Regions from separate parts of the Homo sapiens genome. Here all the other regions are linked to region 2. Evidence: promoter capture Hi-C in human tissues and cell types (Jung and others, 2019). All regions are on one chromosome and are shown on one strand. Each heading gives the region's core, a stretch centred on a gene start or on the middle of the fragment in contact. The rest is flanking DNA. Distances are from core to core; before and after follow the strand shown.

What was found. The method cuts DNA at HindIII sites, captures the fragments that hold promoters and counts their contacts. A contact is called where the count stands out against the background at its distance.
Region 1: a contact is called between a fragment that was not itself captured here and the fragment with the promoter of NPAP1 in region 2, in 2 of the 25 tissues and cell types used here (dorsolateral prefrontal cortex and mesendoderm cells).
Region 3: a fragment that was not itself captured here is called in contact with the fragment with the promoter of NPAP1 in region 2 in 1 of the 25 tissues and cell types used here (aorta).

What each region holds. Positions count from the first base shown.
Region 1 is chr15:24,346,405-24,349,590 of GRCh38, reverse strand. The region is part of intron 2 of LOC105370733 (a long non-coding RNA gene); the gene reads right to left. Among named protein-coding and RNA genes, the nearest start is that of PWRN3, 93 kb to the left of the region's middle. The HindIII fragment of the contact is 7,486 bases long and covers 1-3,186 here.
Region 2 is chr15:24,674,232-24,677,810 of GRCh38, reverse strand. NPAP1 (nuclear pore associated protein 1) reads right to left here and starts at 2,036. Exons shown (of 1, transcript NM_018958.3): 1 at 1-2,036. The coding sequence starts at 1,943. The HindIII fragment of the contact is 8,790 bases long and covers 1-3,579 here.
Region 3 is chr15:25,125,131-25,128,310 of GRCh38, reverse strand. The region is part of intron 61 of SNHG14 (small nucleolar RNA host gene 14); the gene reads right to left. Among named protein-coding and RNA genes, the nearest start is that of PWAR1, 8.9 kb to the left of the region's middle. The HindIII fragment of the contact is 3,468 bases long and covers 111-3,180 here.

The DNA of each region.
Region 1 (3,186 bases), core at 385-2,884, 330 kb after region 2:
GTCATTATTTCCTATATCAGAATGAAAGAACAAAATCACTAACAATGAAACTAATACTTTTATCATGTGGAAATACACTGTATAATAATAACATCATTATATTATAATTATTGGAAAAAAAGCTGTTTTCAAGACATATATCTGTGGATATTTGTCTTGTCTTTTGTCACTCCTATGATTACATGGGATGGAACATATAAGGAAAATACACCAACAAAGGTTTTCCTAAATTTCCTCCCATTCAGATCCAACTCTCCTAAATCACTCTTCAATTCATCTTGCTCATGGTGTTCCCCATGTTATCATCATTTGTGCTAATCTGAGGATTTGGTGATGCTGCATTTCCTGTGAGATTCCTACCTTGCTCCTGCGAGTCTCTATTTTCAACCTTCTGAAACCTCCTGTGCAAGATTTGATGCTGATGTTGATGACATCACCCAAAAACATCAACAGGAGGTTTGCAGACAAAGCTCATATACAGGTAAATGAGGACAATCACATTATGACTGCCTTCCCGTCAACAGTGTTTTAACGCTTTCAAATTTAAGATGCATCTGTATTTGATAGATGTGAAAATGTGCACTCTACGATGAATGGAATACACTGTTTTCTCTGTGACTGCTTGTTTCTCACTGTTAAATTATGGTGGCTCATTGGCTATATTCTTGTTTGTTATTGAGGAAATATGCTTAAATCTTACCATATAAATTTATAAACTGCATTTATATTCTACCTGGAAGCTTCACCACTGCCCTCCATTAGGGAAGTCCAGTTTGTCCACTTCTCATTAAAGTGAGTGTCCAGAGAGGTGTTATAAACTGCATTTATAATTTTAGACACATTAGAGTTATTAGTGGAGTGCTAGAATTCTTATGTCACATATGGAAATATAGTTCTATGAACCATGGTTTAAGAAATCCATTGAAGACAAAGATGAAAATTGTAAAGAGTTACTTGAAAAATTTACTGGAGTGCTAGCTCTCTAAAGACGTGGGAAAATCCTGTATTTTGAAACTTTAAACTGTAATCTTAGAAATATGAGCAACGCTTCCTGTAAACTTCATTACAGATTCCATTCTTTCAGCTGTAACATTTGTATATCTTTTTCTTCATTCACATTTGTCCTTTTAATCACATGGCTGGTGATCGTAGAAATCACCTTATGATTAGTCACTGCAGAAGTGAATGCATAATGGTCTTTATAAGATATTCTGATCTGCCCCCTTGCTTCTCTGGTCAACTCTACTTTGGGTAATTGGATATTGGAATCGGTTTCGATGTCCCCTCATGAGTACACTGAGTGATGAAAAAACTCATACAGTCAGAGTTAAGGGGGCTGACTGAAATTTCACCTAGAGTTTTAGACTCCGGGAAGGTTGAATTAAGTAAACACAAAGCCATGCCATTACATATATGAGACATTCCTTCCTTGAACTCAATCTTCTTATCAGGTTAGAGTGTGGAGACAGAGCACTGGGTTTGCCTCATGATGTCGTCTAAAAATGTGGTTTGTTTGCAATAGCATCTTCTGTAGACTTGTGGTGTCCAGACCAGCCTCTATACAACTGTTGATTTAGGATACTGTGCGAAATCATATCTTCCATGCAGTGAAAGTTTGTCTGGGGACTCAGTGCTCAGCACTTTGTCATCTGTGCCTGTGACATCCTGCTATTCAAGATTTATGGATGTCAATGGGAGTTTAATATGTACCTCCATGGCTTTGTAGGCCTTTTAGGCATGGTTCCTGAAAACAACTCTGCTGCTACTAAGAAGAGTGCAATGGCCTCTTAATAGGAAGCTGTGTGGAGAATTAGTGGGCAGCGAGTACACATGCAGAGTCATCAGTCACCCTGTTTCTGTCTCTCAGATCACTGCATGGAGGGTTGGAGATATGCTGTATACTGGTTTTTTTGTTTGTTTGTTTTTTTGTCTACTGAGATTTCTCTTCTTGTGCACAACATGTATATATCACTCAGTATCATTCACCTGCAAAAACTCTGTTGTAAAGTTTTATTCCCAGGCCTCTGGAAGCAGGGACTGCCCTGCACCAACTTATGAGAAATATTTTTTGTACTCTGCTTACCTGCTATCTTGATGGCTTTAGGGTTGGCCAAAGGCAATATAATTCCACCATGTGAGTATCAACAGAGTGCACAGTCCTGCACAGTTCCTGATGGAGCCTGTAGAAAGAAGCAAAGTAAATTAGAACAGGTTTTCTGAAAGGTTTGAAGGTAAAGTTGACCTTGGGTTACTTGAAGAAGAAATCCCCGTACCAAGAAAACATGATCCTGAATGCAGAAATATGATTTCTGTTCCCTGTCACTGAAATTTCTTATTCTTGCCTTATATCATCTGGAAGTCATGTCTTCCAAAAAGGTTAGTGGGATCCTGAATATACTCTGCTAAATGCTGTCCTAAAATGGGGTTTTCTGGGATATGTGAAAAACAGGCATCTTCCTTTCAAGAAGTGGATGCTGACGCTCTAATGACTAGGTAGTGGGGAAGGAGAAAGAGGATAAGAGTCCTTGGAGCTTGATGGTACCTTCCTGAAGGAGTGGCACCTGGGTTTCGAATGTTGCCTAGAAAAGAAAAGCCAGTTTACTATTCTCTCCCTACATGCCCACTTGTATCTGGAGGCAAAAGTTTTTTGCTGATGTCTTTACTTGCTTACTTTTCTTAAAAAAATAATAATAATATTAAAAAACATATTTATTTTGAAATAACTGCAGATTTACATAAATGCACATAGGTAAGTACAGACAGTTTCATATACCATTCAGCTAACTAGAATGTTAATATATATTATAACCATAGCATATTCATGAAAACTAAGAATTTAACTGTTTTTCGAGATTATTAACTGATCTACAAACTTCCTTCATATTTTACCAGGTTTTTTAATAATCATATACTTATCTATTCCAGGACCTAATCCAGAATACCACCTTACAATTACTGTCAAGTATATTACTTACTACTTGGTGCATAACAAATTAGTACGTACCTTAGTGGCTCAGAACCACACACATATTACTCACGGTTTCTCTGGGTCTTCGGTCTAGATGTAGGTGATGGCTCAGGCTGAGGCTCAGCTGGGGAAGGGTCTCCTTCCAAACTCACATGATTGTTCTTAGGATTCACTTCCCTTCCCTCATCAGGAACTCACTGATGTGTTATTAAAATCAC
Region 2 (3,579 bases), core at 787-3,286:
TTGGGCTGAGGGGTGGCTTCTTTTCCAAAGAGTTGGTTAAAACTTGGGGTGGTATTGTGGAATATAAATGGAAGTGGGGATGTGTAGACTGATGTCTTTCCCGGGTGCCTCTGCTCTGCACTGCAATGTATTTGGGAATTTGGGAGAGAGCTCACTCTGGAGCTTAGGGAAGATGTGAAAATAACAACCTGAGATGGGGCAGTAGTATCCATATTAACTACTTCAGGGTCTACCGCAGTCTGTGAGGTTAGGTGGGCAGATGCGTTTGTTGTGACAGTGGAAATGACTGACGTGGAATTCATAGGCTTGCTGGTGATAACTGAGGTCCCGGTGGAAGGGACTGGAAGAAGAGTCAGGAAGGAAAGAGGAGGAGGGGAATCCACACACATAGATATTGGGGACTCCCTTGTGACGGGAGGCTTGAAGGAGGGTGTGGAGCTAGGAGGTGTTGGGGGGTCAGAAGTGAGAGGCGCTGCTCCTACGACTGAATTATAAGAGCCTCCTTTCTCATTAGACTGATCACCCAAAATGGGAACAAGGTCAGCAGGAAGAGCCAGAGGAGAGTTAGGGATTGTGAATGCTATTTTCTCATCCATTTTTGGTGTGGTGGAAAGTGGAGGGATAGGCAGGATGAGGGGTCCAGTAGCCAGGTCAGCCAAGTCAGGGATGGGCAAAGGAGCTGAGACCTGGGAAGTGTAAGTGGTCAGGGGCAGGGAGTCTGTGGTCTGCACAGGTTGGGAGAAAGAAGGGGCAGGCTGGGTGATGCTGCTGTTTGTCATGGTCTCTGTTTTATCCTCCAAGATTCTGCTATTCCTTTTATACTCAGGGCTCTTCTCCAAGGTGTGTAGGTCTCCCTCAACAGACAGGCAGGGGAGCTTAGCAGGTGGGGGAAGCTCACCTCGATCCCACAGCAATGGCAGTGAAGGGGGCAGCGGCAGCAGCAATGGAATCGACATTTTCCTTTTGCAGGGCCTGTTGCGGGCAGCTCTGGGAGGAGCAGCGCTCCTTGGAGGAATACAGAAAGGCTTCTCATCAGGCATCCTCTTTCCGGACATCAGCGGAATCGGCAAGCCTAGGGAGCTGGGCGGTGGCTCTTCATTCAGCACTTCCGCAGCCAACTTCTGCTGCAGCAGGGAGCAGCCAACGGCTGGCTCAGGGGGCGCTGTTGCATCCGGATCAGGCTTTCCAAGATGCCGGGCACATCCGGCCTGGCTGTGTGTGCTGGGCATGGCAGGGCCTTCCAAGCAGGAGCTCGCTGGAGACGCCTGGGCCTTCTCACTCATGCTGTTTTCTGAGAACTTGTGGTAGACATTTCCCTCCAGAGGCCCAGGGCTGCATCTGAAGGAGGCCACGTCTCCCTGGGTGCCCTGGGACCTGGATGTGGACGATGCTTCTCCGCTGCTAAGGGGGGTCCTTTTCTCGTCATCCTCCCCTTCGATCTGCACCGGATCCTCATCCTTCTTCACTCTTCTGGGCCCTTCTTGGGCCCACACCTCGGTCTCCTCCAGGAGAGTGGCTGGGATGGGCTTCCTGGCCTTGACCGCCGGCTCACGTGGTGAAGGCAGCAGGAGAGTGAACATGCGGCTGGGAGGAGGGATCCTTACGGAACTGGGGTGTCCAAACCTCGGGGGGTTCCGAGCAGGCAGCATGGGTGTCTTCCTGATGGCCAGCCCCCAACCCACAGCCGGCAGGACCCCCAGAGGGGCGGCCGCAGCCCGAGGGAGAGGACACGGCCTCTTAGGGGCGACGAAGATGCTGGCTGCTGAAGGCCTGCGACGGGCGTTCCGGCGGAACAGGCCGCGGAAAGGGCGCGGGGTGGGTACAGAGTGAGCCCGACCGGGCGGGGAGGCGTCCCGGGACAGGGGAGCGGGGGCGCCACGCCCTGGCCCTGGCAGGGGCCGGCGGCGGCACCCGGGTCTAAATTTACTAAGTAAATTGCCCATTTAGAGCTAGCCGTGCCTCCTACCGTAAAACAGGGTCAGCAGTGGACTCAACTCTCCTCAGCCACCGCCTCCTCTGGCGACCAAGCACAAACTGACTGGCTCTACGCCTGCGACGCCGCCGCGAGGTTCCTCACAGAACCAGGGAGCGCCAGCGGGGGCGCAAAAGGCAGGGGTCAGAGGGCAAAGGGCGACGCCCCGTCGGCCCCAGCTGCCCCAGGACCCCCGGAAGCCCCGCTGCCGGTGGCAGGTGTTGCACCGCGTGGCCTCTATGAGGGAACTGCTGGGGCCTGCGGGCCCATCGCCAGAGCTCTTGTCACCTGGGCGCCGGCTCTGCCTGTTCCTTAGCCCTGGCCCGGCGCTGTTGCACGCAGTGGCCCTGTGTCGGCCGTCCCCATTCCCCGGTTCACAGAGGGCACATCTGCTTCAAGTTAAGCACAGGACAACCTATATCCTGCCAGCCTCCTCTAGGACCTTGGCAGTGCTCTGTGCTGCCTGGAGCCAGGTGTGCCGTCTCTGTGGCGCCAGGGTCACCAGCCAGGCCGTGAGGGTTTCCGAGGAGGGGACGTGGTGCCTTGTCCTGACTAGATGCTACGCCCTACCACATCTCTTCCTGGCAGGCAGGGCCTCTTCACTTCTTTTCACAAATTTGTTTTAAACAACATTTAAGGCTGGGCGCGGTGGCTCACGCCTTTAATCCCAGCACTTTGGGAGGCCAAGGCGGGTGGATCACCTGAGGTCAGGAGTTCGAGACCAGCCTGACCACCATGGTGAAACCCCATCTCTACTAAAAATACAAAAATTAACTGAGCGTGGTGGCACGCACTTGTAATCCCAGCTACTAGGGAGGCTGAGGCAGGAGAATCGCTTGAAAGCGGGAGGTGGAGGTTGCAGTGAGCTGAGATCACCTCACTGCACTCCAGCCTGGGGGAACAGAGCAAAACTCTTGTCTCAAACAAAAACAAAAACAAAAAACCACAACAAACAACAGCAACAACATTTAAGCCTTAGGCTGCTTGCTCCTTGGGTCATTGATATGACAGTGGCCTAGCCAGGCTTCGAACCTGGGCTGTGTGATTCCAGAGCTGGTGCCGTGGCCTGTGTGCCTCCTTGTTATGGACACATCATGTATTCTCATTATTTCCTGTAGTCCTTAGGGTACCTAGCACACAGCACATCTGTATTAAGCACATGCGTTCCTAGGGGGAAGCCCTTACTTCACCTCATAAGTTGGTCATGGCAGGCACTGGGCTCCAGTCTCCTCTGAAGACATGGGGCAGCGACCCCCAATAGTCAGCAAAGCAGCATCCCACACTGTTCTTCTAATTGAGCCTTGCAGCCCAGATTTCCTTTTTGGTCTAGTTTGAAGGATCTAAATATGTAAAGATTATAGTCCAGATCCATTTTGGCCTATCCCGAAAGAAATTCACCAGTGGATTAATCCAAATGGATAAGCCAGTTCTCTGGCCTTCTTGGAATATGTTAGAAAGCAAATTCATCATGTATTTGCAAGTCAGTAGTGGAGCAATGTATTCGATTAAAATATGATCAATACAATTTGGTCATTGTCCGCATGCCAGCAAGGCCCACTCTTTACCACACATTACTGTCACCTAAGTATAACTATCCATATTCTTAT
Region 3 (3,180 bases), core at 595-3,094, 450 kb before region 2:
AGTCTGCATTTGACTTCTTTACAATATGGCTCCTTCTATGATGTGGGTACTACAAATAAGTAAACAGTGGAAGAAGGACTGTACCATATAGAAACATTTTTAGAGAAATGAAAAATCAAAAAAGCTAGAAACTATATTTCCATACAGTTACACCAAGTGTACTGCTTCTGCCACCCCGATACAGTAAGAACAACCCCTCCTCTTCTTCCTCCTCCTCAGCCTATTCAACATAAAAATGAGAATGAAGACCTTTATGATCATCTACTTTCACGTAACGAATAGTAAATATATTTTCTCTTCCTTATGTCTCGTAATAACATTTTATCTCTCATTCACTTTATTGTTAATAAAATAGTATGTAATACATATAACATAAAATATGTGTTAATTGACTAGTTATGTTATCTGTAAGGCTTTCAGTCAACAGTAGGCTATTCGTAGTTAAGTTTCTGGAGAGCAAACAATTGTCCACAGATTGTCAACTATGGGGGAGTCTGAACCCCTAATCTCCATGTCTGTTGTTCAAGGGTCAAGTGTACTAGCAAATAGAGCACTATACTAAATACATTTTATGAAGCCTAATGCCAACATCTGACAAAAATAATTTTTAAAAAGGAAACCACAGGATAATGGCCATCACGGACATAGGTGAATAACTCTTAAATAACTAGCAGAAAAATTGAATACAGTAATATATATACAAGAAGGATAACAGTGACCAATTGGATTACATCAAGAATGCAATGTTGGGCTAACATTCAAAAGCTGACCAATGCAGTCTCCCATAATAAGAGAATAAGGGGGAAAACATGATTATATTAATAAATGTAGAAAAACATTCAGCAAATTTATCACATTATTATTATAAAAATTAACAGCAAACTGGCACTAGAATAAAACTTGCTCAATTTGGTAATGGGCATCTACAAAAAAATAACAGCTAGTATCTTTCTTAATGGTAAGAAATTACATATTTTCTCCTAAGACTGAAAAGAAGACAACCCAACTGAAAAGCAGTTGCAATGTGAAAATATTACTGTTTTCATATAATAGTAACAAATCTGGAAAACGAAATTTAAACATATTCATTTACAATAGCATCAAAACAACAAAACAAATAAATTTAACAATTTAATCTAGTTTATTAAATGTTAAATTTTAATAATGTTTCTATATTGAAAACTACAAGGTATGCTTCTATACTAAACACCATAAAAGACATCTATGAGAAATTATAGACGACCTAATAAATGGAGAACTACAGACTCAACATTGTTAAGATGTCAATCCCCCCTAAATTTATCTATAGTTTTGATGTAATCAAAATCAATTTCTCGGTTGGGCTTTTTAGGAAATTGACAAGATAATTTTAAAATTTAAGTGAACATACAAAGGACCCAGTGTAGCCATCTCCTTCCTCTATAAAGCCTTGAAATAACAAAATTTTGGACTCACACTACTTAATCTCAAGATTTACTATTAAACTTCAGTGAAAAAGAATGGCATAAAGAAGGAAAAACAGAGAGTTCAAAAAAGATCCATACGTAAATGGCCAACTTATTTTCAACAATGGCATTAGATAATTCAGTAGAAAAAGAAAAATCTTTTGATCAAATGGTTCTGCAACAACTGGAGATTGATGAAAACAAGTAACTTCAACTACATTTGAAAATGATTTGAGATAGATGTTATACTTATGTCCCAAAGCTTCTAGAAGAAAACTTAGAAAACTATTATTTGCAAACCTGGAGTAAGCAAAGATTTAATAGTAAGTAATAAGCACTAAAAATAAGAGACTCAAACTGATATACTGGACTTAAAAATTTTCAATGTCTGTTTATCGAAAGACACAAGAAGCCTGGGCAACACTGCAAGACTCTGTGTCTAAAAAATTTTTTTTATAAATTAGCCTGGTGTGGTGACATATGCCTGTAGTCCTAGCTGCTCGGGAGGCTAAGGTGGAAGTATTGCATAAGCCCAGGAATTTGAGGCTGCAGTGAGCTATGATTGTGCCATTGCACTCCAGCCTGGGTGCAAAGTGAGACTTTGTCTCAAAAAAACTCCAAAAAACAAAAATGAAAAGATGGGGAAAGAGAGTTGGGACTGACTGCTTAATGGGTATGGGTTGTCTTTGGGGTGCTGAAAATGTTTTGGAACTAGTTAAGGATGGCAGTTGCAAAACATTTTGAATGCACTAAATGGCTACGTTATGTTAATTTCACGTAAATTAAAGGAAAAGAGATGGGGGAGAAAAGGAGAGGAAGAATAAATAGCAATAAGGGATGAGCCACTGGCAAATTCGGGCCATTTTAAAATTTAGAGCATAACAGCATTAAAAGGAGAAGAAAGAAAAGAAAAAGAAAGGAAATGGAAAGGAAGGCAGGCAGGCTAAGATACTTAATGAAAGAAACCTTTGCAACACATATATTGAACAAGAAATGTATGTCCCAGTAATACAAAGAACACTTCCAAACGAAGAGCAAATAAACAATCCAATGTAAAACTATTTGTAGTGTGATACTTTACACATATTGCAAACAATTCTCATAGAGCAGAGGGGTTGAATAAATTGTGGTGCATCCATGGAGTTAAGCACTAAGCATGACAGAATGAGGAATATCTCTTTGAATACACATGAAGTGATTTCCAGGACATATTAAGCGGAAAAAGAAAACTGCAACAAAAAAAAATCTATAGTATGCCACTAATCATGTAAGAAGGAAGGGGATATAAAATATACATGTGATATATGATAAAATATACATGTATCTGCCCACTTGTGAACAAGAATAACAAGAGAAAAAAATAAACCAGAAACTATTAGACTAGTTAACTCTAAGGGTTGGGTGAGATTAGGGTGGAAAGAAGGGAGGAATAGAATCAGTGTAGCAGGGATGATGGGAGAGTGGTATTTCTCACAGTCCTAATTTTTAGAAACATAGTAATATTTCACATATACAAAATATAGTTAAAATAATCCAAAAGGTGAGGGAACTCAAAATGGAATATAAACAATAAAAAAACCTGCTTGATTATATGATTAATGTAACCATATGGCAGGGGATAGGAAAAAAAAGATAACTAACCTAAATACGTTTAGAAATAATAGTATGTTGACTGAACGCTGTTAAGGATAAAGACAAAAGAACTATATTTAAATACTGTGCTGTAGTTAGTGAT